Linked DNA regions of Homo sapiens: region 2 is linked to region 1. The links are contacts of gene promoters, found by promoter capture Hi-C in blood cells and fetal thymus (Javierre and others, 2016). All regions are on one chromosome and are shown on one strand. The core of a region is centred on a gene start or on the middle of the fragment in contact, and the rest is flanking DNA. Distances in the headings are between cores, read along the strand shown.

Region 1 (4,207 bases), core at 1,499-3,998:
AGTCCTGTCTTCTAGCTATTTTGAAATATAAAATACATTTAACTATAGTCACCCTACTCTCCTATCAAACATTAGAATATATTTCTTCTATCTAACTGTATGTTTGCTCAGTCATTTCTCTGTGGGGTATATTCATTTGTAAATAATAAGTTTAGACTATTGCCTCTAATTCATTTCAATCTCTAACATAAAATGGGTTTAAAGGCTCTCTATATTTCCAAAATTTATATAAAATTCCCTTTGCAAAAGCTGAGCTGAAAGAACATTATAAATGAATATTATTTTGCCTACCTAAATAAAACAACACTTATGCCTAAAAATCACATTGTAAATAAGAAATTTATGTTACTATTATGTTTTCTTTTATTATCATTAAAGTTCTACAATGAAACTATAGTGAACTTTGTGGCCGGCTTCCCAGCACCCATTCCAACTCATTTCCATTGAGAAAAAAAGTAAAGTTTGGGTGAGACCTCAGTTTAAGATGTGGACTGCATTGGTCTACAGGTAACCATATCCTTTGCTGGCTTAGATTTGGATATGTGACACAATTCTGTCCAAAGTGATTAAAGGAGACAGTTGCTGAAGACTTCTAAGAGACAGAAGAAATCTAGACGTCATTTCTATCACCCAGTGGAAGTGAAAAATGAATTACATGGTTCCTGTTGCTGCTGGTAGTTATATTTACCACTAAAGGAACCAGAAGTCTACTCTGTTAAAAGCCAAGTGTAAAGCTGCAAAGAACTGAGTACATTATGAAATCGTTGAGTTGCTAACTCAACCAGTCCTGAAGTCTGCCTTACCTCTGGACTTCTTGTTCCACAAGACGATAAATATCCTTACTATAACAGGATTTTGGTTGTGGTTGAAATGGTAAATATATAGAGGATAACAAAAGTTTAGGGCCAAAGGTCCTTATGTGTCATTTTGTCCCTCTGTTCCTGACCACTTTATCTTACAGAGCAAGAGCCCAGGTGGCATGAGACTCCCTAATTTAACCCAGCCACACAGGCAGTAGCAGTGGATAAAGAGAGTCCTCTCCTGATGCCCATCCAGCTGCTATCTTCACCACACATCTGACCTAGATGGCATTCAGTTTTGTCCACCCTTTAAGCATACATATGCACCTACTGAATGAACAAACAGGATATGCACAATACCCCCAAATGCCACAAAATTTAAGTTCTGCTAATCTTAAATGTTATGTCATTGGACATTACCTAAATTCCCCCAAAACTTGGCCTTACCCTGACTATTGTTCAAATTGGGGTACTTTTTTGGTCATAATGATAATAATCCCCAAAACAACATGTGTCAGATACTGTGCTGAATACTCTACTCGCTTTCCTCATTCATTTGATAGTAAGAGGTTGGTATTGTAACAAGACGCGTTTTGCAGATGAGGAAATGAAAGCTCAAATAGGTTGAGACACTGGCCCATGATTGCTCTGCTGGTGAGTGACAGAGTGAGTATTCAAACCAGGTTCTAGGGTCTGCAGGTTCTAGGGATTCAGCTACAGACCCACTACCATCCCCTCCAGCTCTGAAAGCCCATGGATCTAAGATGCCCATATTCACCAATGCACAGGCCAACCTGAGACTTAAAACTGGAATTAATTTATCAAGGCACAAACTAATAATCAACGGAATACATCTATTGCCAAATCATCTCCATGGCTGCTTCCAGATTGTTGGTAATAGCTATACTGTAAGGTTCAGACCAAGGGGACCAACGTCAGAATTTGTTATCTAAGGTCCAGTACTGCAGTTTACTAATCCAGGTACTGGATTTACAGCTATTAAATACTTAACACTTGAGGATATCACATGTGATTAATATTCTTAATTTATTTGTACTTTTTATTTGAGCTGGAGATACAGTAGTGAACAAGAAAGAAAATACCTTCTGGAGCCTGCATTTTAACAAGCGGGACAATTAAATTCAATAGTGATTTAGCAAGTACTTCTATACCAAGTTCTGTTTGGCACTACAGATAAAAAGAAAAAAGATGCTATCCTCTCACTGCCAAGTGTGCCTGGACAACCCAACTGTTAGCGAATAATTCTACTTCTGTTTGGTAACTGCTCTTTATGTTGGAAAGTTTAGTTACATTATTCTATTAAATAACCTTCCAATTAAAAGCAGGAGCACAATCCCACATACGCGTCTGTCAAAGTAAGCACCCATTTCTCAGCTGTAACTCATTACTGGTTCCCTGCCGCAGGCACTGTGCTGCTTTTAACCTTACTTGTAAACTATTACCTAACTTCCCCGGTAAAGGTGCTCGCTTATCCAGTAAGACGGACAGACGTCTATGGTAGATCCACGTTTCATTTATCCCAACTCACTGGAACTGGCTGAAGCTTCTCCAGACTTGTGCCGGACCTTGGTGCAGCCAAAGTTGCTTTCTCCGCGGCCACCTAAGCTGCCAGGTGCACATTAACTAAGTGGCAGAAGGCCATCGGCTTGGCAATTGCCTGAGGCCTTTCCGGGACTCGCTGGTTTTTAGGTTCCATGAAGGGCATCCAGATCTAGGATGATACGAAAAGTGCGTGGTGGGAGAGTGGAATCAACCTCTACTCTTAGGTCCGATACAACCCCTCCAAGCACCTGTCTAACCAATCGGAAAGAAAGTTACATTCAACGCTGGTTCTAGCATCCAATCCAAGGACGTGTTTCAGACTCTGCTGCCCGGTCCCAGCCAGCCCTGAGCTGGCGCCTTAGACGCTCGCCTGGCAGCTGCGCACACTCGGAGCGCCCCGAGCGGCGCAGATAGGGACGTTGGGGCTGTGCCCCGCGGCGCGGCGCCTGCCACTGCGCAGGCGCCTCAGGAAGAGCTCGGCATCGCCCCTCTTCCTCCAGGTCCCCCTTCCCCGCAACTTCCCACGAGTGCCAGGTGCCGCGAGCGCCGAGTTCCGCGCATTGGAAAGAAGCGACCGCGGCGGCTGGTGAGTACGCGCCTCGCGCGCTCGGCGTTCTGGGGGGCAATGTCACCCCCTCTCCAGTCCCCTAGGGGCTTTGAAAATAGAGATGGTGAGACCAGACCCTATGACCCACTCTCCCCCACTACACGCACATCCCCTGGGGCGCGGCGGGGACGTCCACGAAGGGACTCAAAGAGCCAGGGAGGTGGCGGGCCGAGGCGGAGGCCAGGAAGGGAAGAGGAAAGAAAAATTAGCAGGTGCTGGGGAAGGCAACCTGTGGTGTTAAGTGTGAAGGGAGGGAAGTCAGCCGAACGGTAGTGGAGGAACCTAAGGTGGGTCTGGGGTAAAATTGAGGGGAGCTGGGGCGGGGTCGCCAGGCTTTTGGTTTTAAAGGAGAACCACCCATGGCATCGACATCCGTCTGTCTGAATATTAGATTAGAGTTTATGTTAATTATAGATAATGATATTTAAGAACTAATTTCCTGGAAAACAAGCCAACCAAACAATAAAAGGTACATTTAAGTGCCTTTTTAAAGGGCTGGATTAAAAGCACGTAAGGACTTAAAAACAATGCTTCCTTTTCTTGTCACAACCACCCTATGAGATCATAGCATTCCCATTTTACAGATGACGAAAGTCAGGCTCAGAGAAGTGAAGGGACGCGTCCAACCAAGATTGTACAACTAGTGACAGGCAGATTCAGGTTTACACCAGATCTGACTCCAGAAGGGCTTTGCTTAATCAGGCAATCTTGTGGACCCAAGTCTGAAGGAAGATTTGCCAACTACTGTGAAATATCAACTGCTGGTTTCAGTATTATGAGCTTCTATTTCTTCTTTTTTCCCCTCAGAGATTGTTTCAATCTGTTTTAAGGAAATTAAGAGGCCTGCTGCACTTGTGCGTCTTCCCCCCACCTCCACTTAAATTAGTTACAGGATATAATTTGGAAGACATTTTTTTTTATGGTCTCAGGTCTTAGATTTATTTATTTATTAATTATTATTATTATACCTTAAGTTTTAGGGTACATGTGCACAATGTGCAGGTTAGTTACATATGTATATATGTGCCATGCTGGTGCGCTGCACCCACTAACCCATCATCTAGCATTAGGTATATCTCCCAATGCCATCCCTCCCCCTTCCCCCCACCCCACAACAGTCCCCAGAGTGTGATGTTCCCCTTCCTGTGTCCATGTGTTCTCATTGTTCAATTCCCACCTATGAGTGAGAATATGCAGTGTTTGGTTTTTTGTTCTTGCGATAGTTTACTGAGAATGG
Region 2 (4,574 bases), core at 252-2,751, 260 kb after region 1:
AAACCCTGTTTCTACTAAAAATACAAAAATTAGCAGGGCATGGTGGCGCATGCCTATAATCCCAGCTACTCAGGAGGCTGAGGCATGAGAATCGTTTGAACCTGGGAGGCAGAAGTTGCAGTGAGCCAAGATCATGCCATTGCACTCCAGCCTGGGCAGCAAAACAAGACTCTCTCTCTCTCAAAAAAAAAAAAAAAAAAAAAAAAGACTTAAATATAAAACCCAAAACCATAAAAATCCTAGAAGAAAACCTAGCCAATACCATTCAGGACATAGGCATGGGCAAAGATTTCATGATGAAAATGCCAAAAGCAATTGCAACACATGCAAAAATTGACAAATGGGATCTAATTAAACTAAAGAGCTTCCGCACAGCAAAAGAAACTATCATCAGTCGAGCAGGCAACCTAGAGAACGGGAGAACATTTTTGCAATCTACCCTTCTGACAAAGGTCTAATATCCAGAATTTACAAGGAACTTAAATAAATTTACTAGAAAAAGACAAACACCCCATCAAAAAGTGGACAAAGGATATGAACAGACACTTCTCAAAAGACGACAGTTATGCGGCCAACAAACATGAAAAAAAGCTCAACATCACTGATCATTAGAGAAATGCAAATCAAAACCACAAGGAGGCCGGGTGCGGTGGCTCACACCTGTAATCCCAGCACTCTGAGAGGCCAAGGCGAGTGAATCACCTGAGGTCAGGAGTTTGAGACAAGCCTGGCCAACATGGCAAAACCCCGTCTCTACTAAAAATACAAAAAAAAAAAAAATTAGCCAGGTGTGGTGGTGTGTGCTTGTAATCCCAGCTACTCGGGAGGCTGAGGCAGGAGAATTGCTTGAACTAGGGAGGTGGAGGTTGCAGTGAGCCGAGATCGCGCCACTGTACCCCAGCCTGGGTGACAAGAGCAAAACTCTGTCTCACAAAAAAAAAAAAAAAAAAAACTAAACTAAAAACTAATGAGATACCATCTCACGCTATCATGCCAGTCAATGGATTATTAAAAACTCAAGAAACAACAGTTAAGCTACCAATGACTTTCTTCACAGAATTGGAAAAAACTATTTTAAAGTTCATATGGAACCATAAAAGAGCCCACATTGCCAAGACAATCCTAAGCCAAAAGAACAAACCTGGAGGCATCACGCTACCTGACTTCAAACTATACTACAAGGCCACAGTAACCAAAACAGCATGGTACTGGTACCAAAACAGAGATATAGACCAATGGAACAGAACAGAGCCCTTAGAAATAATACCACACATCTACAACCATCTGATCTTTGACAAACCTGACAAAAACAAGAAATGTGGAAAGGATTCCCTATTTAATAAATGGTGCTGAGAAAACGGGCTAGCCATATGTAGAAAGTTGAAACTGGATCCCTTCCTTACACCTTATACAAAAATTAATTCAAGATGGACTAAAGACTTAAATGTTAGACCTAAAACCATAAAAACCCTAGAAAAAAACTTAGGCAATACCATTCAGGACACAGGCATGGGCAAGGATTTCATGTCTAAAACACCAAAAGCAATGGCAACAAAAGCCAAAATTGACAAATAGGATCTAATTAAACTAAAGAGCTTCTGCACAGCAAAAGAAACTACCATCAGAGTGAACGGGCAACCTACAGAATGGGAGAAAATTTTTGCAATCTACTCATCTGACAAAGGGCTAATATCCAGAATCTACAAAGAACTCAAACAAATGTACAAGAAAAAAACAAACAACCCCATCAAAAAGTGGGTGAAGGATATGAACAGACACTTCTCAAAAGATGACATTTATGCAGCCAACAGACACATGAAAAAATGCTCATCACCACTGGCCATCAGAGAAATGCATATGAAAACCACAATGAGATACCATCTCACACCAGTTAGAATGGTGATCATTAAAAAGTCAGGAAACAACAGGTGCTGGAGAGGATGTGGAGAAATAGGAACACTTTTACACTGTTGATGGGACTGTAAACTAGTTCAACCATTGTGGAAGACAGTGTGGCGATTCCTCAAGGATGTAGAACTAGAAATACCATTTGACCCAGCGATCCCATTATTGGGTATATACCCAAAGGATTATAAATCATGCTGCTATAAAGACATATGCACACGTATGTTTATTGTGGCACTGTTCACAATGGCAAAGACTTGGAACCAACCCAAATGTCCATCAATGATAGACTGGATTAAGAAAATGTGGCACATATAAACCATGGAATACTATGCAGCCATAAAAAAGGATGAGTTCATGTCCTTTGTAGGGACATGGATGAAGCTGGAAACCATCATTCTCAGCAAACTATCACAAGAACAAAAAACCAAACACCGCACGTTCTCACTCATAGGTGGGAATTGAACAATGAGAACACTTGGACCCAGGAAGGGGAACATCACACGCTGGGGCCTGTTGTGGGGTGGGGGTAGGGGGGAGGGAAAGCATTAGGAGATATACCCAATGTAAATGACGAGTTAATGGGTGTAGCACACCAACATGGCACATGTATACATATGTAACAAACCTGCACGTTGTGCACATGTACCCTAGAACTTGAAGTATAATAAATAATAATAATAATAATAAAATAAATAAATTTTAAAAAAAAGAAACAACAGATGTCAGCGAGGCTGTGGTGAAATATGAACACTTTTACACTGTTGGTGGGAATGTTAGTTCAACCATCGTGGAAGGCAGTGTGGCAATTCCTGAAGGATCTAGAACCAGAAATACCATTTGACCCAGTAAGCCCATTACTGGATATATACCCAAAGGATTATAAATCATTCTGCTATAAAGATACATGCACATGTATGTTTATTGCTGCACTATTTACAATAGCAAAGACATGCAATCAACCTTAATGTCCATCAATGATAGACTGGATAAAGAAAATGTGGTACATACACACCACAGAATACTATGCAGCCATTAAAAGGAATGAGATCATGTCCTTTGCAGGGACATGGATGAAGCTGAAAGCCATCATCCTCAGCAAACTAAAACAGGAACAGAACACCAAACACTGCATGTTTTCCCTCATAAGTGGGAGTTCAACAATGAAAACACATGGACACAGGGAGGTGAACATCACACACCGGGGCCTGTGTTGGGGAGCCGGCAGAGTGGGGAGAGCATCAGGACAAATAGCTAATGCATGTGGGGCTTAAAACCTAGATGACAGGTTGATAGGTGCAGCAAACCACCATGGCACGCGTATACCTATGTAACAAACCTGCACGTACTGCACGTGTATCCCAGAACTTAAAGTAAAATAAAACTTTTAAAAAAAGAAGAGATGTAAAACCTATGAAAACATGTAAATAAGTCAAAAGTTTTCTATATATCATGAGGTAGAAAATTACCTCAATGGTACTCTTTGGGCAACTTTGAAGGCAAAAGAAACCAGAAGGCAGGTCAGACGAATACTATCCTAATTATTTAAAAGAAAAAAAAATAGTTTCAGAGGCTTCCTGTGACCACAGGATATAGTCTAGATTCCATAGGAGAAAGGCAAGCAAAGTTTGATGCAAGCTTCAGCTTAATCTCCCATCACTACTGTCTCTTTCTTTGCATTCTGATGATAGCAATTTTTTTGCAGCTACCTGCACTCACTCAGCCTGCTGTTTCAGACTCCCCAGTTTTCTTTACACTGTTTCCTCTCACTGGAATGTCCTTCCTCTCCTTCTATTTATTCTTCCAGACTCAGCTCAGGAATCATCTCCTTCAGGGAGGGCTCCCAGAACTTCAAGGCACTCTCAATCCTCCATGCCCAGGTGCTTCCCAAAGTACTGATGACAGCGATATTACCCGCTGGGGTACCAGCCTCCGCACTTGCCTATCAGCTCCTCCAGGGCTAGATCATGTGCTAGTCATCTCTGCACTCCCAGTAATATTAGGGCTTAGTACTTTGCTGATGCACAATAAATGTTTGTCAGACTATTATATAGGTGTTCTGGAGCTGGTTATGCTATGTGGCTTATGAATGCAAAGAAAATAAAGTCGTAGAGGCCTTATAGCCCGCTTGAGGCTGCTGAGGCCTTATAGCCCGCTTGAGGCTGCTCAGGACTCATTCAGATCCTCCACCGTCTTTACGGCAGCCAACAGCCATGCCTTTAGTTAGGTTGCTGAGTTCTGATGGAACAATGTTTCAAGTAGGTAGTGAGATTTCCAAAGAGCCTTTTGGAATAAAGTCTAAAGGAAGGCTGACAAAATTCTTCTATTCTGTAAGAAGAAGTAATTTTGCCAAACACTCACCTCAGTGATGATCCTTTACCAAATGAAATGACAAAAACAAAGAAAAATGAACATATAGCATTATTATTCGAGACCAAAAAAAAAAAAAAAAATCAAACTCCTGAAAATTGACCAGGCTACTGTTTTTGAAATTATCGTGGTTAGATATTTAGACATTAAATGTCTGCATGATGTCACAAGCAAGAAGTCTGAAAAATCACAGGAAAACAAGGGGAAATTTTCAAGGCAGTTGATATCAGAGCATTATTTTTCATGAAGCAGAAGAATCTTGAAGAGGACTTGGGCTGGGGGAAGAAGATAAATTTTGT

Evidence for each region. The method cuts DNA at HindIII sites, captures the fragments that hold promoters and counts their contacts. A CHiCAGO score of 5 or more calls a contact.
Region 2: a contact is called between a fragment that was not itself captured here and the fragment with the promoter of ENPP4 in region 1, in 1 of 17 cell types (total B cells). The highest score is 5.2, in total B cells.

Annotation. Positions count from the first base shown.
Region 1 is chr6:46,127,241-46,131,447 of GRCh38, forward strand. ENPP4 (ectonucleotide pyrophosphatase/phosphodiesterase 4) reads left to right here and starts at 2,749. Exons shown (of 4, transcript NM_014936.5): 1 at 2,749-2,949. It also overlaps a transcript of CLIC5 not described here. The HindIII fragment of the contact is 7,807 bases long and covers 2,363-4,207 here.
Region 2 is chr6:46,385,679-46,390,252 of GRCh38, forward strand. The region is part of intron 2 of RCAN2 (regulator of calcineurin 2); the gene reads right to left. Among named protein-coding and RNA genes, the nearest start is that of RCAN2, 100 kb to the right of the region's middle. The HindIII fragment of the contact is 4,079 bases long and covers 1-3,541 here.